Linked DNA regions of Homo sapiens: regions 2, 3 and 4 are each linked to region 1. Evidence: promoter capture Hi-C in 16 types of primary human blood cells and fetal thymus (Javierre and others, 2016). All regions are on one chromosome and are shown on one strand. The core of a region is centred on a gene start or on the middle of the fragment in contact, and the rest is flanking DNA. Distances in the headings are between cores, read along the strand shown.

Evidence for each region. The method cuts DNA at HindIII sites, captures the fragments that hold promoters and counts their contacts. A CHiCAGO score of 5 or more calls a contact.
Region 2: a contact is called between a fragment that was not itself captured here and the fragment with the promoter of TNRC6B-DT in region 1, in 14 of 17 cell types (megakaryocytes, M0 macrophages, activated CD4 T cells and 11 more). The highest score is 14.2, in megakaryocytes.
Region 3: a contact is called between a fragment that was not itself captured here and the fragment with the promoter of TNRC6B-DT in region 1, in 4 of 17 cell types (erythroblasts, M1 macrophages, megakaryocytes and 1 more). The highest score is 6.8, in erythroblasts.
Region 4: a contact is called between a fragment that was not itself captured here and the fragment with the promoter of TNRC6B-DT in region 1, in 7 of 17 cell types (endothelial precursors, naive CD8 T cells, total CD4 T cells and 4 more). The highest score is 8.0, in endothelial precursors.

What each region holds. Positions count from the first base shown.
Region 1 is chr22:40,043,137-40,045,930 of GRCh38, reverse strand. TNRC6B-DT (TNRC6B divergent transcript) reads left to right here and starts at 1,401. Exons shown (of 1, transcript NR_163486.1): 1 at 1,401-2,794. It overlaps FAM83F (family with sequence similarity 83 member F), which reads right to left. Exons shown (of 5, transcript NM_138435.4): 5 at 2,397-2,794. It also overlaps a transcript of TNRC6B not described here. RefSeq lists silencers at 348-417, 428-647 and enhancers at 948-1,067, 1,378-1,677, 1,759-2,406. The HindIII fragment of the contact is 12,286 bases long and covers 1-2,794 here.
Region 2 is chr22:39,550,519-39,553,312 of GRCh38, reverse strand. No RefSeq gene overlaps it. Among named protein-coding and RNA genes, the nearest start is that of CACNA1I, 19 kb to the left of the region's middle. The HindIII fragment of the contact is 2,704 bases long and covers 91-2,794 here.
Region 3 is chr22:39,599,937-39,602,730 of GRCh38, reverse strand. CACNA1I (calcium voltage-gated channel subunit alpha1 I) reads right to left here. Exons shown (of 37, transcript NM_021096.4): 3 at 2,078-2,211. Among named protein-coding and RNA genes, the nearest start is that of CACNA1I, 31 kb to the right of the region's middle. The HindIII fragment of the contact is 879 bases long and covers 933-1,811 here.
Region 4 is chr22:40,365,606-40,368,399 of GRCh38, reverse strand. ADSL (adenylosuccinate lyase) reads right to left here. Exons shown (of 13, transcript NM_000026.4): 13 at 1-1,964. The coding sequence ends at 1,878. Among named protein-coding and RNA genes, the nearest start is that of SGSM3, 3.6 kb to the left of the region's middle. The HindIII fragment of the contact is 1,399 bases long and covers 672-2,070 here.

The sequences.
Region 1 (2,794 bases), core at 152-2,651:
TGCTAAAAAGTAATAAAACAGCCAAAACACATGAGAAAGCACGAACTTAAAGTCCCAGGCTGGTAACCTGAATTCCAAAGAATTCAGAATAAGCTGGTCCTTAAGGCGCTTGACTAGAGGTGACCGTTACTGGACGTCTTTAACCACTACAGCGTGTCTCGCTGGATCGGATGTCCAGCCTCTACAGCCGAATAAACCGGTAGTCTGGAACTGAAGGGCACCGGACCACGGGAAGGTGTAAAAACACTCTCCGTGCCCCTCGTTTCCTTGTCCAGAGTCTGAGCCGCCTCCCCAAGTGGCCGCACACGCAGGGCCCTGGCGAGGGGTGTGGAACGCATTCACCTTGTCACGCAGGTCCTGCACACAGGCCGGGACGCTGCGCAGGGACCCGAGGATCCGAGGCCTGACGCCTCCCTCTGCCACCGCCAGCCAGGGGCGGACGCGCCTCCGCGGGCCGGGAAGGTGTCCCCGCGCCGAGGCCCCCCGGAGACGGGAAGCGAACTCGACGGCCGGGCCAGCCCACCCGGAAGCCCTCCCCCAGCTCACACCTGCTGGCGCGTGACGCCCGGAGCCGCGCGCGCGCCCGCCAGTGCCTGCCCGGCCGTTCGGGGCGCCCCGGCCCGCGCGCCGGACGTCGCCCCGAGTCCCTCCCCGCCCCTCGACTCAAATCTCGGCGGCGCCCGCTCCCGCGGAGCGCGCGCTCAGCGCCGCCGGCCGCACCAGCCCCGCGCGCGCTCACGCCCCCTCCCCGGCCCGCTCCCCGCCCCACGCGCGCTCCCTCGCGAGGACACGCACACGCCGCGCCTCCGCTCACCGCCCCGGGCCGCGCCGCGCGCCCCCGGGGGCGCCCTCGCCGACCCCCGGCCGCCCCGCTCCGTCCCGGCGGGGCGCGGGGGAGGGGAAGGACGGCGCGGCCGCCGCACCTCACTCACCGCCGAGCCGTGCCGGCTCCGAGTGCGCGGCGTTTCGCTGTGAGGCGAGGCGCGCAGTCTCCGCTTCTCCGCAGACTATGGAGGCGACGTCGTAGGGGGGACTGAGGGGCGCAGGGGTCACTCCCTCCCGTTTCGCCTTGCAGCAGCACGGGGACCCCAAAAACTAAAAACAAAATAAACAAACTTTCCCCTCCGCATCCCTCCCCCAAAACCACAACACAAACACTCGGGGGCCCGCCCAGAGCCCCACTCCATTGGCCGCAGGGAGGATGCTTCCGGCTCTCACTGGCTGGCTTTTGTGCCCGTCAAGCTGTCGTTCCGCCCCTCCAATTCCTCGTTGCTGCCTTCGCCCCTCATTGGTTAAGTGCTTCCCGTTTAACGAGCTAGGATTGGCTGAGCTGCCTGAGCCAATCATGTGGGGACACACCCCCTCAGCATCCCAGAGGCCGCTTCCTCGGTCGAGGACCCAGAGAGACTCAGGGGAAATTAGAGCATGATGGCGGCCGAGGTCGCTTGGCGCAACCATCGTCTTTTTTCTTTATTTTTAGCTCATTAGTGCCTTGCCTCGGCGCTGTTTCCCTAAGCTCCTCTCTCCAACCAGTACTGCCCTATAACGGAATCCATACGTGCCGGCTCCTTGATTTATCCCCTCCGAAGTGCTGAGTGTGGGCTGGTTGTGCGTCATTGGACTGTCAGGATGTCACTCCCCAGTCAAATCTTCAAGCTATTGGTGGAACAGCAAGAAAGCCCGTCCATCAACAAGGGCTAATACCATTGGTTTGACTCCACTGTGTTATTTCCTGGCACCTTATTGGGCAAATAGGTGCGTCAGATCCGGATTCGCTCTGCTACGGTTAATTGTTTACTGGGGATTTGGGGTCAACTCTGGTTGTTTGGCCAGTAGTTGACGATAATAGTGACTCCCTTGCCTATTTTGTGCCAAGTATTGGGCTGCTTTCTTCACAAACATTATCTGGTTAAACCTGGGAGTAATGCAGTATCCAGTTTTTATAGATGGGAAATTAAGGCTGGCGAGAGCTTAGAAAACTTGCCCAAGGTCATCCAGATACAGAGTCGTTGGTGGGCCTGGCATCTGGTCCTGGGTCAAACTGCAGAGACTTCACTCTTTTTATTATGCTTTAGTGCCTCCACCTTAGACGATGTACTTGTCAGCCAACCTAGCATCTTAAAAACGTTTCATTTGGAACTCAAAGTCTTCAGTCAGTTTCTAGAAGTGACTTTGTTGGGGACTTACTATGGAAAGGTTGTCATTGCCTCCACCACATCTTCCTCCCCAGGACCCATTCCTCTCCCCTTTAAGGTAGACATTTCTGCCTCCTTTTATGCGAAGCCTAGGCACCACTCGCAACCCCTGACCAACCATCTACAACTCATTCTTTGGAGAGAGTCCTCAAGAGCTGGAAAACTAGGAGAAATCAAGTCTAAAGAGAGAGACAGAATAAATCGTCTTAGAAATGAATAATTTATTGCATGCAAAGAGAACAGCCCTTCAGCTCCTGGAAATCTTCCAGGATAGTTGATGCTGAGCAAGACGTGTGCTCCTGGCTGGTGGCCACTGGGTTCTTTCCCTATAGCAGCATTCATCGAAGTGAATCCAACATTTCAGCCAGAGGAGGGCAGGACGCTTAGGACCCATTGCCAGTGAGCTTTTGCGACCGAAATGATCTCCAGGAGCACAACGCTGGACTCTAGCCCACATTCCATCTTGGGTAATTAACATTTTACCGTCCCAAATCCCCATCCCCTGTAGCTTCAGTGGGATCACCGCCCTTGTTTCACTTCCTGATCCAAGCTGTTGTGTAACCTCCTTGGCACTGCTTTAATAATAAAACAACCATTGT
Region 2 (2,794 bases), core at 193-2,692, 490 kb after region 1:
CAGGCCGAAACAGGAGCACTGGGCCCCAAATGTCCCTGGCCTGGGAGCAGTCCACCATGATAGGAGAAAACCAATGGCAGAATGCAAGCTTCAACAGTCCAAAAGCATCTGTTAATCACCTCTGCGTACCAGGCCTGTGCCATGGCTGGAGGACATTACGAGATGGAAAATTCTGGAAGTGCTGACTGTGGGTAAAACAGGGAGGAGATTTGGAATGAGACCCTAGGGAGGATGGGCCAGACGCTGGGCTTCCCATATGTGATGGGGCAGGCTGAACCCCAGCACCTGTGGGCACCTTGATGGGTTTGAAGAGGCCAAGATGGACCCAGAGCCCAGTCTGGAAGGTAGTGGCTGGATTGTTCTGCAACATAAAGAGAGAAGAATCAGAAGGTCCAGAGAGAAAAGAGTGGAGAGGGAAGGGAGAGGAGAGAAGAGATTGCAAGATGGAGGAGACCAGGGACACGCAGAGGGGGACGCACCTGGGGGGATCCCCCAGAAGCGGGGGGACTTCGATTTGAAGTGGTTTGCATGGCTGCAGTGTCAGTGTCCCTCCCCTGCCAAGTCCCCAGGAACATCTGCTGGACCCACAGGGGTACTCAGTGTGTGGATATCAAGAAAGGAGCCGAGCTCCCCCTCAGTGCTGACATGAACAAGAACAGCCCTGGGCATGTCACCCAGTCCATCCCCAACTGCACTAAGCCAGCAGAAGCAAAAGGTCAAAGCCAGAGGGGTCCAGGAGAACACTGGCAGCCCCCCAAGATTGCTGCATCCCTAGGAATCTGGGCAGGAAGTGTGGGGGTGGAGCTGGCTTATGTAGCTGAGAAGCAGGGAGCCCCTGGGCCCGGCTGCAGGTGTCCACTTCTTCTATCAGCCCACTTAACCCCCAGCAGTCCTAGGTGACAGGGATCATGCAGCTCCACTTACACTCGGGAGAACCAGAATCCGGAGAAATTAAGTAAATTGCCCAGAGTCACACAGCTAATAAGTAGCATAAACAGGATTCTATGCCAGAGTGCATGTGTGTGCGCATGTGTGTGTGTGTGAGAGAGAGAGAGAGAGAATCTATCTCTGCCCAGGACAAAAGCCTATCTATCTGCCCAGGACAAAAGCCTGGAGTGGGGGCAGAGCATAGCTGGGGACAGACCCCAGGAACCTCAAGTTCCTGCCAGGTCGGAGGTCCCTGACTCTCAACCAAAACAGGTAGCTGATGCCTGAGGAGCTTCCTGGACAGGGCTCAGAGAATCCAGTCTCTACTAACAATACAGAAATTAGCCGGGCGTGGCAGCATGCGCCTGTAATCCTAGCTACTCGGGAGGCTGAGGCAGGAGAATTGCTTGAGCCCAGGAGGCAGAGTTTGCAGTGAGCCAAGATCGCGCCACTATACTCCAGCCTGGGCAATAGAGCGAGACTCCATGTCAAAAAAGGAAAAAAGAAAGAAATTGAGTTCAAGAGAGCTGGTGTGACAACAGTTACACGCCAGGCCATCACTCAGTGATGTTTATTGACCACCTACTAAGTGCCACGTGTCAGGTATACAGAAACAGATGAACCCCAGCCCTGTGGGGAGAAGCCACATCTGGACAACCTGGATTTAAGCTCGGAAGAAAGGAGCTGGGAGCCCCCAGGAGGAAACGATATTTTCTGGGGTCAGACCAGGAGGGCCAAAGAAGGCTCCACAAAGGGAGAGACAGTGAAGGCCTAGAAGGGACAACAGGCAGTGGGCAGATCTGAGTTTTCCTAGCCAAGTATTGGAGGAAGGGCATCTCAAGCCAAGGGACAGCAGGAGCAAAGGCCCGGAGAGCATCAGGTTAAAAAAGACATGGGGGTCTGGGCGCAGTGGCTCACCCCTGTAATCCCAGCACTTTGGGAGGCTGAGGCAGGTGGATCATCTGAGGTCAGGAGTTCGAGACCAGCCTGGCCAGCTTGGTGAAACCCCGCCTCTACTAAAAATACAAAAATTAGTCAGGCAGGGTGGCAGGCGCCTGTAATCCCAGCTACTCGGGAGGCTGAGGCAGGAGAATCTCTTGAACCCAGGAGGCGGCAACCTAGGTTGCAGTAAGCTGAGATCATGCCATTGCACTCTAGCCTGGGCGACAGAGCAAGACTATCTCAAAAAAAAAAAAAAAAGAAAGAAAGAAAGAAAAGAAAATGACACTGGGGAAGAGGTGGAAGAGGGACCGGAAAGCCCAGCTTAGGAGCGACGGAGCCAGAGAGGAGAGTGGACGATGAAAAGAGGAAAAATCACCTTGAGGTGCAGGGGGTGGGGACCCTCTGCCCCTGCTGGCTTCTGTCCACCTCTGTCTCTGTCTCTTTGGGCGTCTCTCTCCTGCTTCCTGTTTCCCTTGCCTGGCTCCCTTCCTCCTTGGCGTTTCTCTGTCTTACCCTTTCTCTGGCTCTCTCCATGCCCCTCTGTCTCTCTGTCTCCCTAACTCTTCCTGTCTGTCTCTTGCTCTCCCGTCTCCCCGCTGTGTGTGTGTATGTACATCTCTCACGCACGTGTGCCCTCACACTCTTCCTTTCTGCCACTCCTGCTGCTTGGAGATAGAATAATAGAGCAGGCAACTATCCCTTTTATCCTCAGCTGGACAAAGTCCCGGCACCCGGGCAGTCAGGCTTCCAGGCAAACACCCTCAATGTCGCCATCAAGGAGAGACCATGAGGCCTGTGTGGTGGGAGTGGGTCTCAGGCTGGAGGCGCTGTAGTTGGCCAGGTCATTACTGTAAGCCTGGGCCCTGCCCTGTGGTCTTTCAAGCCCTGATGGCTTAGGATGGGCATTTGAGGGAGCAGGCAAGCT
Region 3 (2,794 bases), core at 123-2,622, 440 kb after region 1:
CTGTACTGGACTCACCTGCAATACTATAGTGTAGGTTTGAATGGCAGGATGTGTGCAGTGTTCTGACTCTACAATAGCACAAATAACGGTCCACACTCAAAGATCAAAGGAATATATGTTTGGACAGGCAAGATTGAAAAATGACACTATCCAAACACCTTTTCTTTTAAAAAAAAACTACTTAAAGATGTTCTCCAGCCAAACCAGAATAAGAATGAAAACGAAGAACGTGACTAAGAGGAGGATACAGTGCTCAGGAAACCACAGGAAACCAGAGTAGCTTCCGTACAGGTCTCAGTGACTGTTGACAATGTGTTTGTAAAACTGAATACAGTGATTGAGAGAAGATGCTTAGAGGCCAGGTGCGGTGGCTCACACCTGTAATCCCAGCACTTTGGGAGGCTGAGGTGGGAGGAAAGCTTGAACCCAGGAGTTCAAGACCAGCCTGGGCAACATAGTGAGACCCTGTCTCTATAGAAAAGAAAAGAAAAATTAGCCAGGGTTGGTAGCACATGCCTGCAGTCCCAGCTACTCAGGAGGCTGAGGTGGGAGGATCCTTTGAGCCTAGGAAGTCAAGGCTGCAGTGTGTGGTGACTGCATCACCACACTCCAACCTAGGTACAGAGTGAGACCCCATCTCAAAAAAAGAAGGAAGGAAGGAAGGGAGGGAGGGAGGGAGGGCGAAAGAAAGAGAGAGAGAAGGAAGGAAGGAGGGAAGGAAGGAAGGAGGGAAGGAAGGAAGGAAGGAAGGGAGGGAGGGTGAAAGAAAGAGAGAGAGAAGGAAGGAAGGAAGGAAGGCAGGAAGGAAGGAAGGAGGGAGGGAGGGAGGGAGGGAGGGTGAAAGAAAGAGAGAGAAGGAAGGAAGGAAGGAAGGAGGGAGGGAGGGAGGGAGGGAAGGAAGGAAGGAGAGAAAGCGAGAGAGCAAGCAAGCTTAGAAGAGGTGTAACTTTTTTAAAACCCTAGTGAAACGAATCACCTCACTTCAGAACACATCTGTGGAATTTAGCAGATACCTGATGGGATTCTCACACCCTGACTGTCCGTCTCAGCCATGCGTCTACTGAATCAAAAAGGTCACACCTCCTCAATAGCATTCTACACACGAGGTCACACACATACACACATACACTGACACACACACTCACACACCCTCTCTCACACACACACGTACAGCCTCCAGCCTTTTTCTCTCTCCTCTGCCCTAATAATGACCCACTCTTGGGCATGGTTAATGTCTCCTCATCCTTCAGCTCTCCCGTGTCACCTCCTCAGGAAGCCCTCAAGCCCCCAAGTCCCCAGCTTGGCTCAGTCGGGCTGCTGTGTTAAATGCTCTCAGCAAACCACATGCTTTGCCCAGCGCCCTGGTCCCCGTGTGTGAAGGCACGCCCACTGGCGTAGCAGGTGGGTGCCTCCCCGAGACAGGAGTAGGAAGGACAAGGCCTGTGTCTGGCTTGCTCTCCTCCTTGCCCCCAGCAGCTAGGGCGGCGCCAACACTGGGGAGCAAGTTGTTCAGTCCCTGGTTGATGGATGAATGCATGGATGGGTTTGACCCAGGAAAGCAGGCACAAGACCCAGAGCAGGGTCACAGACGCTCCAGATGGGCTCAGCTGTAACCAGGCCTGTCCCTGACGGCAGCTTGTGTCTCGGTAGAAATAACCACAGTCTGGAGTCAGACAGTGCTTGAGTCTGTGCTCGGTCTCTGGCGTGATGAGAGATCCAGGATAGCAATCCTAACAGCTAGCATTTATTGGGTGCTCATTTTGACGCAGCTACTATTATTATTCCCCTTTTCAGATGAGGAAATGAAAGCTTAGAGAGCGTCAGTGGCTCTCTCAAGGTCGTATCATTAATTAGCATAAACTCACCCAGTATCCGCTGGCAGTGCTGGAGGACGCACAACTTAGGAAGGGAGGAAAGAATGTCTGTCTGTCCATCATTCCTCCCAGCCCAGGGGTCCAGGAGGGTCCCACGCATCACCGTGATTCCCCTTCATCGCCATCAGCAAGAAGCCCTGGATTCTCTCAATTATGCCTGGTGTGCACCAGAGGCTAGGACCTGCCTGGCGGGCGCTACCTACCCTGCCATGACGATGAAGAAATCCAGGCGGTTCCATGTGTCCCCGAGGTAGCACTTCTTGCCAAAAATCCCCAGGGCCACCATCTTGAGCACCATCTCCATGGCAAAGAAGATAAAGATGAAGTCATCAAAGACCTGCAGGGGCAGGAGGAGGGAAGCAAGGGACAGGGTGAGGTTGCAGAGCAGGGCCCAGGGGTTGCAGCCACAGTGTGAGGTGGGGACACCACATGGATGCAAGGGGCCTGGGAAACACCCGGAAACTCCTCCTGGGCAGGAGGAGAACCTCAGTGATCCCAGTCCAATGCAGTCATTTCATAGATGAGGAGACTGTGGCCCAGAGACGGGAATGAGTTTGCCCAAGGTCATACAGCCCGTTCTATCTGTTCCCTAAGCCTGGGAACAGATAGAAGAGCCCCAGGTGGGGGTGGGGTGAGGGGCCGTCCCATATTCTCCCTAATAATTACCAAGCACTGGCTACACACTTGACCCCCATTCTCTCTCCTAATTCTCCCAAGGACCCCATGGGTAGTCCCATTTTACAGATGAGGAAACAGAGACTCAGAGAGGTTAAGCAACTTGCCCCACAGGTCACACAGCAGATAAGTGGCAGAACCAGGATTGAAACTCCGGTGGGTCTCACCCCAAAGCCCCCATGGAAGCAGCTGTCTCAAAGTAGCCCCCAGGCACAGGCCTCAGTGTTGCCTTTCTCTGCCCACAA
Region 4 (2,794 bases), core at 122-2,621, 320 kb before region 1:
CCCAAGTAGCTGGGACTGTAAATGCGCATCATCGCAACCTGATTTCCTGGCTACTTTTAAATAAAACTGGAACCGATTCAGCCTCCTCTCCCTCACAACATTCCTAACGAGGCAGTCTTCCAGCTTCTGCCTGACCTGGGGGATTGAGTGTAGGTTGCTAATCTCAGTGGTTCCAATGTCTGGCCCCAAGCCAGTCTCAGTAATGGGTATTGAGCTCAGTGTGTCTCTTGGGGCAACACACAATCAAGTCACTCTTCCTGCACCTGGCAATATTTGAAGTGCCGAGGAGTTTTCTTCTGTATAGGATAAAGAGCCCTAACATTCCTCCACCACAAGATCTTTTTGGAGGTTGGCTCTCCAGTTCATCTCTATTCCTCAGACTGGGTATCCAAAATTGAATGTAATGCCAAGAGTGCGGAGCAGTAAGCCTCTGGTGGCTTTTTGGGCACTGGACAACCATTAACACCTCCTAAAACAGTCTTCTCTCAGTTCTGGTGCATACTGAGTTTAAGATTAACTTATTTACATTGATCTTTATTAACTTTTTCCTCTAGTTTAGGACACATCATTTCAGCCGATTTAGGTTAGAGATGAAAACTTATTTTACCAAATAAACATACTTGTTAATTCTCCCAGTTTTGTGTCATCTGCAAATCTGATAAACAAAAGCTTTCATTTTCATCTATGCCGAAAAATATGTAGGATGAGAATGGGCTAAATAACACTAGTGCTCTCCTGGCAGGTAGGTAATTAACTCAATCTTTGGCTACAGTTGCTTCAATCAGCTATAAATCCATGCAACAAGGAAGTCGGGCGCAGTGGCAGAAGCTGGAAGACTGCCTAGTTGCCAAGTATCTGATGTGCTCTTGCTATTGGAAATACAACAAGGAATGACACAGACAACGTTCTTGTCCAATGGCACTTGCTTACACTGTAAACAAGTAAAAAAAGAAAACAAGATTAGGCTGGGTGTGGTGGCTCATGTCTATAATCCCAGAACTTTGGGAGGCTGAGATGGGCGGATCACTTGAGGTCAGGAGTTCAAGACCAGCCCGCCCAACATGGCAAAACTCCATCCCGTCTAAAAATACAAAAATTAGCCAGGCATGGCGGCAGGCGCCTGTAATCCCAGCTACTTGGGAGGCTGAGGCTGGAGAATCGCTTGAACCTGAGAGGCGGAGGTTGCAGTGAGCCAAGATTGTGCTACTGCACTCTAGTCTGGGTGACAGAGCAAGCCTCAACAACAAAATCCATGCAACAAGGAATAAAGACTGTCAGCGGCCCTGATGAAATCAATATACTCAATTAGCATTTCCCTGCTGTATAAGCCTTATCAAAAGATGAAATGAGCTTGGGCACAACTTCAGCTCAATCAGCCTGATGGTCACATCAGGGTTTGGTTCTTTTTTTTTTTTTTTTTAAGTATTTACTGTAGTTCCAAACTTCATCACTTATACTAGCCAAAAATAACCGAAATAAAAGGTATCTGACCATTGACTCAATCACTGAGTCCAGGTTATTTTGCTAGACCTAGATCAAATTCACTTTTAGAAGACAGGACCAGAAATTTCTTGCTACTTTACAAGCAAATGAACACGTGAAAAGGACTAAACTTGAGGCAGCTGGAAAATATGCCTTGAAAGAACAGAGATCAAGTATGAACTACATTTACTATGCAAGAGCAGAGTCAACTTCAACGCTCTTTGTTTTTGCCTTGTTGAGAAATGTGAGACTGAGAAACAGGAAAGCACCATGGGAAGAAGAAAGTGCTGTACTAATTTAAGGTAACAATTCTCGAGGTAAAATAAGGCATTATAGTAACACAATTTTCATGCCTCAGCAATTAACAATGATTTTCGTTTAATTCTCTTCCAACTCTACAGACATAATTCTGCTTTCACCTTCATCACGCTTTCATATGGTTTTAACAGGGGATACACCTCCTCTTCTAAGAATCTCTGCACCTGCCAGAGGAAAGCAAATACAAGACAAAAGAAAATGTTAAGATATTAGCAGATAATACCTTTTCCAATGTCAGGGGATACCACTGAAACCTAATTTGATGAAGCTTTTACTCCAACACTGAGCTTGTTTTCCTCAACTGCCTATCAGGAATTTCTGCCTAGACACAGATGATTCAACCACCATGCCCACATGCTCACCAACCTTTCCCGCAAACTGGCCCAGCCTGTGTTCTCTCAGGTGGTTTCACCATTTCCATCCAACCTAAAAATCACCACAGCTTCTTTCCTCCTGCTTCCCAGCCCTCTTCAAGTAGCCACCAAGAGCTTAACCTCCTCTCCCTCCCCGGTCTGTGTCTCTCACCACTGCCTTCACTCAAGCTCTCATCATCTACTGCTTGGCCCGTTGCAGTAGCCTCCTTATTGGTCTCCTACCTCCAGTTTTAGTCTTTTAGCCCTCAGTCCTTGCACGTACTGCTTGGTATCATAATGACCTATTTACAAGTATTCACCACTAAGTTTTGAGCTCTCTGAAGATGAGGATTATCTATTCATCTTTGTATTTTTTTTAAGACAGGATCTCATTTTGTCACCCAAGCCAGAGGGCAAGGGAATGAATATGGCTCACTGCAGCCTTGACCTCCTAGGCTCAAGCTATCCTCCCGCCTCAGCCCTGAGTAGCAGAGACTACAGGCGCACACCACCACACCTGGCTAATTTTTGTATTTTTTTGTAGAGACAAGGTTTCACCATGTTGCCCAGGATGTTCTTGAACTCCTGAGCTCAAGCAATCCTCCTGCCTCGGCCTCCCAAAATGCTAGGATTACTGGTGT